2 separate regions of the Homo sapiens genome follow, and region 1 is linked to region 2. The links are contacts of gene promoters, found by promoter capture Hi-C in human tissues and cell types (Jung and others, 2019). All regions are on one chromosome and are shown on one strand. The core of a region is centred on a gene start or on the middle of the fragment in contact, and the rest is flanking DNA. Distances in the headings are between cores, read along the strand shown.

What was found. The method cuts DNA at HindIII sites, captures the fragments that hold promoters and counts their contacts. A contact is called where the count stands out against the background at its distance.
Region 1: a fragment that was not itself captured here is called in contact with the fragment with the promoter of ANKDD1A in region 2 in 1 of the 25 tissues and cell types used here (hippocampus).

What each region holds. Positions count from the first base shown.
Region 1 is chr15:64,721,452-64,727,629 of GRCh38, reverse strand. No RefSeq gene overlaps it. Among named protein-coding and RNA genes, the nearest start is that of OAZ2, 21 kb to the right of the region's middle. The HindIII fragment of the contact is 6,629 bases long and covers 89-6,178 here.
Region 2 is chr15:64,907,650-64,913,839 of GRCh38, reverse strand. ANKDD1A (ankyrin repeat and death domain containing 1A) reads right to left here and starts at 1,938. Exons shown (of 15, transcript NM_182703.6): 1 at 1,876-1,938. The coding sequence starts at 1,909. RefSeq lists an enhancer at 1,183-1,726 and silencers at 1,913-2,092, 2,293-2,342, 2,416-2,710. The HindIII fragment of the contact is 17,737 bases long and covers 1-6,190 here.

The DNA of each region.
Region 1 (6,178 bases), core at 2,154-4,653, 190 kb after region 2:
GAACTCAAATACTTTCTGAGTGTCCGTGTTTGATGGTGTAGGGGATACAAAAAACCTGAAGATAGGGTTCCCATCCTCAAAGAGACTATATAGCCTGTTAGGAAAACATGATACTCATCTAAAAAGATAACCAGCTCCCAGCAGCTTTCAAGTAGATAGTACAATAGCAACAGTGGGAACGTCAGAGAGTGGTCCCCGGATGTAGGGGTCAGGGAAGCCTTCAAAAAGGAAGTAGTGGTCTTCAAACTAGTATTTGCACCCCAAGAGGTACAAAAAGAATTTTCACTGTTTTTATTTTTATTTGTTTAATTTTTAAATTTTTATTTATTTACTTACTTTTTGAGATGGAGTCTTGCTCTGTAGCCCAGGCTGGAGTGCAGTGGTGCAATCTCGGCTCACTGCAACCTCTGCCTCCCAGGTTCAAGCAATTCGCTGCCTCAGGCCTCCCAAGTAGCTGAGATTACAGACATGTGCCACCACGCCCGGCTATTTTTGTATTTTTAGTAGAGACAGGGTTTCACCATGTTGGTCAGGCTGGTCTCAAACTCCTGACCTCAGGTGATCCACCCCCGTCGGCCTCCCAAAGTGCTGGGATAACAGGCATGAGCCACCTTGCCCAGCCTTAATTTTTGTATTTTTAGTAGAGACGGGATGTCACCGTGTTGACCAGACTGGTCTTGAACTCCGGGTCTCAAGTGATGCTCCCTCCTTGGCCTCCCAAAGTGTTGGGATTACAGGTGTGAGCCACTGTGCCTGGCTACAAAAAGAATTTTCTAAGGGCAGGTGGGCTTATGTTTAAGGGAATCAATTTCCAAAAAGTCTTTTTTTTTTTCTTTTTTTTTTTTCGACAGAGTCTCACTCTGTCACCCAGGCTGGAGTACAGTGGCTTGATTTTGGTTCACTGCAGCCTTGACTTTCCCGGCTCAGGCACTTCTCCCACCTCAGCCTCCCAAGTAGCTGGGACTATAGGCACGTGCCACCACACCTGGCTAATTTTGTTCATTTTTTGCAGAGGCAGGGTCTCACTATGTTGCCCAGGCTGGTCTCAAACCCCTGGACTCAAGTGATCCTCCTGCCTCAGCCTCCCAAGGTGCTGGGATTACAGGTGTGAGCCACTGTGCCCAGTGTCATCTTTAATAAGAACTATTTATGACTGAGATTGCCTGTCCTCCCTTCGTTTTTACAATTTCTTTTCTCTTACTTTACAAAAGAAATATGTAGGAAGCATGAGTGCTTCCCCTCTCTTTTTTCTGTTCTCTTCCCTCCGAGTGTTTTCCCACCTTTTAGAAGTTAGGCGTGGCCGTGTGACTTGCTTTGGACAGTGAACTATGAGCAAAAGTGTCTCTTCTGGGTAGAAGCATTTACGAGCCAGTATGTGATTCTCCTTCTTACCTTCTCTCTGCCATGGTGACTGATGACATTTTAGCTGGTAGAGTCTGGATCTCTGAGTGATGATGGTATGGATCAGAACCTCAACCAACTTGTGATGGACATTAGAGTGTTGGGGAAGATGGGGAGGAACCTTTGTTGGCTTAAGCAACATAGATTTTGATGTTGGTTGTTATTATAGCATAATTTAGTGGATATGCTACAAAGGACATATATGTCTCACCCATCCTATATCTTTTTTTTTCTGAGATGGAGTCTTGCTCTGTCACCTGGGCTGGAGTGCAATGGCACGATCTCAGCTCACTGCAACCTCCGCCTCCCGGGTTCAAGTGATGCTCCTGCCTCAGCCTCCTGAGTAGCTGTGATTACAGGCATGTGCCACCACGCCTGGCTAATTTTTGTATTTTTAGTAGAGAGGAGTTTTGACATGTTGGCCAGGCTGGTCTCGAACTCCTGACCTCAGGTGATCTGCCCACCTCGGCCTCCCAAAGTGCTGGGATTACAGGCTTTTTTTTGTTTTTTTTTTGAGACAAGTTCTCACCCTGTTGCCCAGACTGGAGTGCAGTGGTGAGATCATGGCTCACTGAAGCCTCGACCTCTCAGGCTCAAGTGATCCTCCCACCTCAACTGCCTGAATAGATGGGATTACAGGCATGTGCCATCACATCTGCCTAATTTTTGTATTTTTATTTTTATTTACTTGTTTATTTTTTTGAGAGAGTCACCCTCTGTCACCCAGGCTGAAGTGCAGTGGCACGATCTCGGCTCACTGCAACCTCTGCCTCCTGGGTTCCAGTGATTCTCCCTCACTCTCCCGAGTAGCTGGGATTAAGGTGCACGCCACCACACCGGGTTAATTTTTTTTTTTTTTTTTTTTGAGATGGAGTCTTGCTCTGTCGCCCAGGCTGGAGTGCAGTGGTTGGGATTACAGGTGCGCACCACCACACCTGGCTATTTTTTTTTTTTTTTTTTTTTTTGAGACATAGTCTCGCTCTGTCACCCAGGCTGGAGTGCAGTGGCTCGATCTCGGCTCACTGCAACCTCCGCCTCCTGGGTTCAAGTGATTCTCCTGCCTCGGCCTCCTGAGTAGCTGGGACTACAGGTGCAAGCCACCATGCCCAGATAATTTTTGTGTTTTTAGTAGAGACGGGGTTTCACCATGTTGGTCAGGCTGTTCTGGAACTCCTGACCTTGTGATCTGCCCGCCTCGACCTCTCAAAGTGCTGGGATTACAGGCATGAGCCACCGCACCTGGCCTAATTTTTTGTGTTTTTAGTAGAGACGGTGTTTTGCTATGTTGGCCAGGCTGGTCTTAGACCTCTTGCCTGAAGTGATCCTCCCGCCTCAGCCTCCCAAAGTGTGGGATTACAGGTGTGAGCCATCGTGCCTGGCTAATTTTTGTATTTTTAGTAGAGATGGGGTTTTGCCATGTTGCTCCGGTTGGTCTCAAACTCCTGGGCTTAAGTGATCCACCTACCTCAGCCTCCCAAAGTGCTAGGATTATAGGCATGAGCCATCATGCCTGGCCCTTCATCCTAGATCTTAGGAGATCTAGTATGTTGTTGATCTGGTATTTGGTATGTTGGAGATCTGGTATTTGGTATGTTGGGAGATCTTGTATTTGGTATGTTGGGAGAGCTGGTATTTGGTATGTTAGGTGATCTGGTATTTGGTATGTTGGAGATCTGGTATTTGGTATGTTGGAGATCTGGTATTTGGTATGTTGGTGATCTGGTATTCGGTATGTTGGGAGATCTGGTATTTGGTTTGTTGGTGATCTGGTATTTGGTTTGTTGGTTGATCTGATATTTGGTATGTTGGGAGATCTGGTATTTGGTATGCTAGGTGATCTGGTATTTAGTATGTTGGAGATCTGGTATTTGGTATGTTGGAGATCTGGTATTTGGTATGTTGGAGATCTGGTATTTGGTATGTTGGTGATCTGGTATTTGGTATGTTGGTGATCTGGTATTTGGTATGTTGGGAGATCTGGTATTTGGTTTGTTGGTGATCTGGTATTTGGTTTGTTGGTTGATCTGATGTTTGGTATGTTGGGAGATCTGGTATTTGGTATATTGTCTTGATGTGTAAAAATCTCTGGGAATTCAAACAGAAACAGTTTGAAATAGTGATTTCAATATTGAGAAAGTGAATGACTCAAATGACTGTATTATAGATCCTTTCTACAAACTAAAGCTTTCCCAATATTTTGCTTTTGAATGGAAGGACCTGAAACAAATTTTGTTGTCATCTGCTTGATGATTAGGTGGTATTGAGTGACTCTGCTAGAACTTCTTCCTTTCCCAGGTACTTATGTGAATAAGATACCTCAGCATTACCATGTGTGAGATTGAAACGTTGAAATAAAATTGAGCCTAGCCAGGTGTGGCGGTATGTACCTGTAGTCCCAGCTACTCAGGAGACTGAGGCAGGAGGATCACTTGAGCCTAGAAGTTTGAGGCTGCAGTGAACTACGATCATGCCTGTGAATAGCTACTGCACTCCAGCCTGGGCAACACAGTCAGACTGTCTCAAAAAAAAAAAAAAAAAAAAAAGACAACAATAACAACGAAAACACAGCCTAAGCATAATGGCTCATACCTGTAATCCCAGCACTTTGAGAGGCCAAGGCTTGAGCCCAGGAGACCAGCCTGGGCAACAAAGTGAGTCCCTGTCTCTACAAAAAATTAGTTGAGCATGGTCATGCACACCTGTATTCCCATGTACGTGGGAGGCTGAGGCAGGAGACTGCCTGAGCCCAAGAGGTCGAGGCTGCAGTGAACCACATTTGCACCACTGCACTCCAGCCTAGGCAACAGAGCAAGACTCTGTCTCAGAAAAACAACCAACCAGCCAACAAAAACATTGATGCTTATCACTGTCTCACTCTAGCATGAGAACATCTCTCTCAATATAAGTTGTATTTCCTATACAATTTTGTGTCTTATATTTAAGAATTCTTGGCCGGGTGCAGTTGCTCACGCCTGTAATCCTAGCTAGCACTTTGGGAGTCTGAGGTGGGTGGATCACCTGAGGTCAGGAGTTTGAGACTAGCCTGACCAACATGGAGAAACCCTGTCTCTACTAATAATACAAAAATTAGCTGGGCGTGGTGGTGCATGCCTATAATCCCAGCTACTCGGGAGGCTGAGGCAGGAGAATCGCTGGAACCCGGGAGGCAGAGCTTGCGGTGAGCTGATATCGCGCCACTGCACTCCAGTCTGGGCAACAAGAGTGAAACTCCATCTTGGGGGAAAAAAAAAATGCTGGGCGCAGTGGCTCACGCCTATAATCCCAGCACTTTGGGAGGCTGAGGTGGGTGGATCACCTGAGGTCAGGTGTTCAAGATCTGCCTGGCCAACATGGTGAAACCCTGTCTCTGCTCAAAATTCAAAAATTAGCTGGGCGTGGTGGCAGGCACCTATAATCCCAGCTACTGGGGAGGCTGAGGCTGGAGAATCGCTTGAACCCGGGAGGCGGAGATTGCTGTAAGCTGAGATTGTGCCATTGCACTCCAGCCTGGGCTGGGCAACACAGCAAGACTGCATCTCAAAAAAAAAAAAAAAAAAAAAAAAGGGATAAAGTACATATTGTATTAGGAAAGCATTATGTGAGAGAAGTAAAAAGAAAATACAAGTTCAAGGAGAAAAAGGAGTGATGTAAAATTTCCTGTGCTAAAGAACAGCTTACTTTTTCTTTTTTTCTTTCTTTCTTTTTTTTTTTTTTTTGAGAGGGAGTCTCACTCTGTCGCCCAGGCTAGAGTGCAGTGGCATGATCTTGGCTCACTGCAACTTCCGACACCTGGGTTCAAGCGATTCTCTTGCCTCAGCCTCCCAAGCAGCTGGGATTACATGCACACGCCACCACGCCTGGCTATTTTTTGTATTTTTAGTAGAGACAGGGTTTCACCATGTTGGCCAGGCTGGTCTCAAACTCCTGACCTCAAGTGATCCGCCCGCCTCTGCCTCTCAAAGCGCTGGGATTACAGGCGTGAGCCACTGCACCTGGCCTCTTTTTCTTTCTTTTTTTTGAGACAGAGTCTCACTCTGTCACCCAGGCTGGAGTGCACTGGGTTGATCTCAACTCACTGCAATCTCTGCCTCCGAGGTTCAAGCAATTCTAATGCCTCAGCCTCCTGAGTTGTTGGGATTACAGGTACGCATCACCATGCCCGGCTAATTTTTGTACTTTTAGTAGAGATGGGGTTTTGCTTTGTTGGCCAGGCTGGACTCAAACTCCTGGCCTCAAGCAATCTGCCCACTGCCTCGGCCTCCCATAGTGCTGGGATTACAGGCATGAGTCACTGTGTCCAGCTTCAATATTTCTAATACAAAAAAAAATTGCAAAGAAATCACATCCTTCGAAACTGTTTTTATATTTTTTTGTAGAGACAGGGTCTCAGTCTATCACTCAGGCTGGAATGCAGTGGTATGATCATTATTCACTGTAACCTTGAGCACCTGGCCTCAAGCAATCCTCCCACCATAGCCTCCCAAAGTGCTTGGATTACAGATATGTCCCACTGTGCCCAGCCTTTTGCAACTATTTAAACATGGTTAAAATTTTTTTTAAATCAAATTTTAAAATTTCCCCTTTTTTTTTTTTTTTGAGACAGAGTTTTGCTCTTGTCTCCCAGGTTGGAGTGCAATGGTGTGATCCCTACTCACTGCAACCTCCGCCTCCTGGGTTCAAGCGATTCTTTGGCCTCACCCTCCCGAGTAGCTGGGATTACAGGCACCTGCCACCACGCCCGGCTAATTTTTGTATTTATAGTAGAGACGGGGTTTCA
Region 2 (6,190 bases), core at 689-3,188:
CCATAGCCTGCATGTTTGGTCCAGTATGAATGTCTGAACCCAGCCCCTTTGTGTATCCAGGGACAGGTGACGAGTGTCTTGGTAGGGAAGGCTAAGATGCACTGAGGTGAGAGACAGGCCTGCCATGCAGTTTGTTTTTCTAGATAAATTCCACACAGTCTTCTCCAGATGAGAAAGAGGATCTTGAGCTTTCTGGGGCCTCATGGATACAACCTGTGGATCTCAGAGTTGCTACCCTGGGGGGCAATCACACAGTCCTGGGTTCAACTCTGGCTTAACCACTTCCTAGCTGTGTTAGGCAGTTTCCTCATCTGCAAAACAGGAGTGCGAGCTTCCCTACAAGGTTAATATCATGATTAGAAATGAGATATGAAAACCCCCTGGCACAGTGTCTGGCACATAATGACCACACCGCCACCACCACCACCATCATCATCACTATTATTCCTCCAAGGCAAAGGGTCAAATTCTGGTAGCCAAAGAGAGCTGCCACTTCAGATGTGAGCTTACAGAGGCCTGGGTTCTAGTACCTTCCCTGCCACTTTCCAGCAGCAGGATCCTGGGCTAGTCACATCCCCCTTGTAGGTCTGTTTCTTCCATTGTAAAACTGGGGGAGGGTGAAGAAAGAGATCTGTATAGGTCCCTTCCTGTCTGGCACCCTCTATCTTATGTGCAGCTTAGGGGGATTGGCCTGGTTTGTATTGGCAAACAGCCAGGAGTTCCAATGGGAAGCCAGCAGACACTGCATAGGGTCAGGCCAGAGAAGGTTAAGTTAGAATGAAATCAAGTCCAGTCTCATCTCTTCCATCCACCTCCCATCCGGCACCCTCTTTCTGGCCACATCCAATACCCACTGAGCTACCTGAGCCTTTGCCCATGCTGGGTCTTTGTCCAGAATTCTCTGCCACACACCCCAATGCTCCATTGGTACACATTCTTCGCAGGCCCACTCAAGTGATCCTCCGCCCCAGGCAGAACCATGTACCTAATCTTGATTGAGCATTCCCACCCCCAACACATCCCTCAGCTGAGTAGATGCAGTGTGCCAGCATTTTGGACACTATAGGTCTCAAAGGAATCCAGTGAGCTGCACTATGCGCTTTTGAGGGAAAGCCCCGGGATTCAGCTGTCAGGATTCAGCCAGGGCTGCAGGATCAAGGACTCACAGTGCAGACACCGACACAATCTTTCTCTCCCCTCTCCCAGACGGTGCAGCCAAAGCTGCCCCAGGCCAGCTGATGCCCACACAGACGCTGCTGCCCGGCCTAGAGGCCCTGGCACTGGGCGCACTCCTTGAGGGAGGTTCGGAGGTGCCCTCATTCCACCTGTGGCCAGTCAGGCTCCTCTCCTCTGAGTGCGTGCCCCATCTGATGCGGTCTCCACTCGCTATCCAGCCCCAGCATTCCGGGTGAGCTGGGCCCTTCAGCACTTCTACCACTCAATGGCTGTGTGACCTTGAACAACTCATTTGAACACCCTGTGCCTCAGTTTCTCATCTGCGAAATGAAGATAACATAATGTCCTACCCATATGGCCGCAGCGAAGATCAAATGACGTGCCTCTCCTGGGTCAAGGCCTGGCACACAAAGTACAGCACGCAGTCAAGGATCGCTATTACCTTTATTATTTGTAGCTAACCTCTCAGCCGCTGCTCCCCGCTCACCTGGCGGGTGTGGTCCCCGAGTCCCAGACGCACTGGCAAGGTCCCCTCGGCCCAGTGCGCGGACCGGTAACCATTCCGCTCGGAGCCACACAGACGCCCCACACGGAGGTGGCCGTTCGGAGGGCGCCAACCTCACCCCTGGCACTCCCCAAACGGATGCGGGGGTCCTCTCGGCCTCGGCCCGCCCCCCTCCCTCCTCCAGGCAGACTCACGGCCGTCGGTCTCCCACGCCAGCTCCTCCTGCATCCTGCCGCTCCGCAGCCCCTGCGCGCGCTGGTGCCCGGGCGCGAGGCGCGCGTCCGCCGGGGCGGGGCCCGGGGAGCCGAGAGGACGGGGCGGTCGCTCCTCCAGACTCCACGCCCCGCCTGCTAGGAGCGCAGCTGCCCCGGCCACCCCAGTCCCGGACCAGGACGCAGGTCCCTCCTCCTGCTCTCTTAACCTGCCCACCCCTCCGCGCCCGAGGCCGGCGGGTCGGGGCCACGCCGAGTTCCGCAGGTGTCCCTGACCCAGTCTCCTCCCCGGGAGTTCGCCCAGCCTCCCCGGCCCTGGAGATAGATGCGCACAAGGCATCTGGCAGGCTCATCCTCCTCGCGCCTCTCGGGACTCGGGGAGGAGGGCTGAGCCTTGGGCCCGCCGCCTCAGGCGCAGAAAGTCAAACCCCAAAGATGTGAGCTGGCGTTTAAGGGACCACAACCTCAGCAGGTCTGCAAGCATATGAAGAGATGGTCGGATTTATCAGTGTTCAGAAAGATTTATCAGGCCCATAAAGGGACATGTAGGAGGATGTTGGTTGCTGTGTTGCTGTGGTTGCTGGGAGTTGGAGACAATCTAAGCGCCCTTTCTTGTAAGAGCAGATGGATAAACTGTGCAGCACTCAAAGCAAGGGACCCGCTGTATTCGTGGCAATATGGATTTAAACACCTAGTGCTAGGCAGAAAAAGTAAATAACCAAACCAAATAAGACCTAGGAAACAATATCAATAAAAATATTACAAATGCATTTACATCAAACAACACAGACTTGCAAAGACACATAGAAACAAAAAGATACACATTAAATACACCAGAATGGGTTGCACTTCAGACCCTTGGGGGATGTCCATGTCCTTTTTGCCTTAAAGGCATTTACAGCTTCTTTGAATTTAGGGATAATGGGGTCTCAGGCATCTCTATCCCAAGGCAAGAAGCCAGCAAAGCCATGATAGGTGTAGTTACTACTACTTTGGGGATCAAAGGAGGAAGAGCATCTTTCAGTCATTAGTCCTTAGAATATAGTTCAAGAAGGCTTCCTGAAGAAGGAGGTATTTGGAATGGCCTTTGAAAAATAACATAATGATAACAGCTAACAATTAATGAGCCCTGAGCCAACCCCTCAAAATGGTCTCAAAATAACAATTCCAACATAATAATCAAAGATATGATTTTTTTTTTTCTGAGACAGAGTCTCACTCTTTCGCCCAGGCTGGAGTACAGTGGTATGATCTCGGCTCACTGCAACCTCTGCCTCCTGGGTTCAAGCAGTTCTCCTGCCTCAGCCTCCCATGTAGCTAGGATTACAGGCACTCGCCCCCACACCTGGATAATTTTGTATTTTTAGTAGAGATGGGGTTTCACTATGTTGGTCAGGCTGGTGTTGAACTCCTGACCTCAGGTGATCCACCTACCTTGGCCTCCCAAAGTGTTGGGATTACAGGTGTGAGCCACTGCGCCGCACCCCCCCCTTTTTGTTTTTGTTTTTTTTTTAAGACAGAGTCTCACTGTGTTGCCCAAGCTGGAGTGCAGTAGCGTAATCTCAGCTCACTGCAACCTCTGCCTCCCAGGTTCAAGCGATTCTCATGCCTAAACCTCCCAAGTAGCTGGGACTACAGGTGTGTGCCACCACACGCGGCTGATTTTTGTATTTTTAGTAGAGACGGGGGTTTCACCATGTTGGCCAGGCTGGCCTCGAACTCCTGACCTCAGGTGATCTACCCACCTAGGTCTCCCAAAGTGCTTGGCCACCACGCCTAGCCAAAGATATTATTCCTGAAAACAGTTTAAATGTTTTTTGTAAAGCTTTTGTCACATGTACATCCCACTAGGGGCATAGTGTCACGTTACTGTTTTAGTCACTTGGAATAGTTCTTTATGTGGTTATGCCACCAACTCAACATGCATGGTTTATTTATTTTGTTTTGCTTTTGTTTTTTGATATTTTTAAATGTTAATTTTGCTTTACAATTATGTAAAGTATTTACATGTTTCAAAGTTAAGTCTCTGAAGGTTGTCATAGTCAGCTGTGGTGATGGATGAAGAGGGCACCACTGGCTTCCAGCCTGCTGTCACTCTCCTTCACTCCACATCCAGCTTTTCTTCCCAGCTGCTGAGCCTGCTGACCAACAGTGGCCCCAGGCCATCGCGGACTTGGCTGCAGACCCAGGGCATTAGTACCACCCATAGACCTCCCCAGGAGCTTTCCCTTGTGGTTCCATTTTAGCAGCTGGACATACTTGGTTTCTCAGATGACTGACTAAGGACTCCTCTGATCCCCAACTCCCCTTCTGGTCCTTCCGCAACTGTGTAAGGCAAATTACTATCACAGATCCCTAATCCCAGGGGTCTCCAACCCCCAGGCTTCAGACTAGTACTGGTCTATGGCCTGTTAGGAACTGGGCCACACAGCAGGAGGTGAGCAGCAGGAGAGCGAGCATTACCACCTGAGCTCCGCATCCTGAAAGATCAGTGGTGGCATTAGATTCTCATAGAAGGGTGAACCCTATTGTGAACTGTGCATGTGAGGAATCTAGGTTGCACACTTCTTTTTTTTTTTTTTGAGATGGAGTTTTGCTCTTGTTGCCCAGGCTGGAGTGCAATGGCTCACTGCAATCTCTGCCTCCCGGGTTCAAGCAATTCTCCTGCCTCAGCCTCCCATGTAGCTGGGATTATAGGTTTGCGCCACCATGCCCGGCTAATTTTGTATTTTTTTAGTAGAGATGGGGTTTCACCATGTTGGTAAGGCTGGTCTCAAACTCCTGACCTCAAGTGATCCACCTGCCTCGGCCTCCCAAAGTACTGGGATTACAGGCGTGAGCCACCATGCCCAACCTAGGTTGCACACTTCTTATGAGAATCTAACTAATGCCTGATCATCCGAAGGGGAACAATTTTATCCCAAAACCATCCCCCCACCACCCAAGTCCTGTAAAAAATTGTCTGCCACAAAACTGGACCCTAGTGCCAAAAGGTTGGGGACCAGTACCCTAAACCCATAACCTCAACATGATTCTGCTTCCTTCACTGCATCCTGACTGACAAAATAACATTTGTGTTGTTGATGCTTACCCTTATATTGTTTAATTTAATCATATATTCTCCCTTTACTGCAGTAGCATACTATATATCATCTTCTTACTTTGCCCTGCCCCTTAAAATTCACCCATTTAAGTGTATAATTCAATGGTTTTTAGTACAGTATCGTTCAGAGTTGTATAACTATCACCACTAAATATTTTCATCACCCCAGAAAAGAAAGCCCATATGCTTTAGCTATCACCCCCCCTTGCAGTTTACCCTCCCCAACCCTCCACACACAGCCCTAGGCAACTACAAATCTACTTTCTTTCTCCATAGATTTGCCCGTTCTGAACATTCTTCTGGCTTTATTCTGGGAACAATCTACTACAGAGATCTCTCCGCAGTAGTCTGTTGAGATCTTCCTGCATCCTTTGTACAGCCTCAGAGTCCTCCATTGGGTGGCTTATTCAACCACTCCCTGTTGATGGACATTGGCCCTGTTTCCAGACTTTTGTTATTACAATAGAGTTACAATGACCAACCTTATGCATGCATCAGTTGGTATTTTTACCAGTGCATCTATGGGATCTATTCTTATAAATGGGATTGCTTGGTCAAAGGGTAAATGCACATATAACTTTGCTAGCTATTGCCAAATTCTCCTCCATAAGGTCCAGAAATATTTTGCATTTCCATTACCAATGTATGAGGGTGCCTGTTTCCAAGGAGAACATTCTGTAAAACTTGGATTTTTCCCAATCTGATAAGTAAGAAATAGTAATTCATTATAATCTTAGTTTGCATTTCTATCATTACAAGAAAAGTTGGTTATCTGTTTCTATGTTTAAGAGCCGTTTTCTTTTCTTTTTTTTCCTGAGAACAATCTGTTCTTATCCCACTCATTTTTTAAATGATTGTTGGCCTTTTGCTTAAGAGAAATTTTAAAACAGCTTTTTATTTCTTGTCTTATTAATGTTTGTTCATTACTAAAGAAATTTTAAAATACAAAGAAGGGGCTGGGAGCGGTGGCTCACGTCTGTAATCCCAGCACTTTGGGAGGCCGAGGTGGGAGGATCACGAGGTCAGGAGATCAAGACCATCCTGGCTAACATGGTGAAAACCCATCTCTACTAAAAAAATATATATATATAAAATTAGCCGGGCGTGGTGACGGGTGCCTGTAGTCCCAGCTACTCAGGAGGCTGAGGCAGGAGAATGGTGTGAACCCGGAAGGTGGAGCTTGCAGTGAGCTGA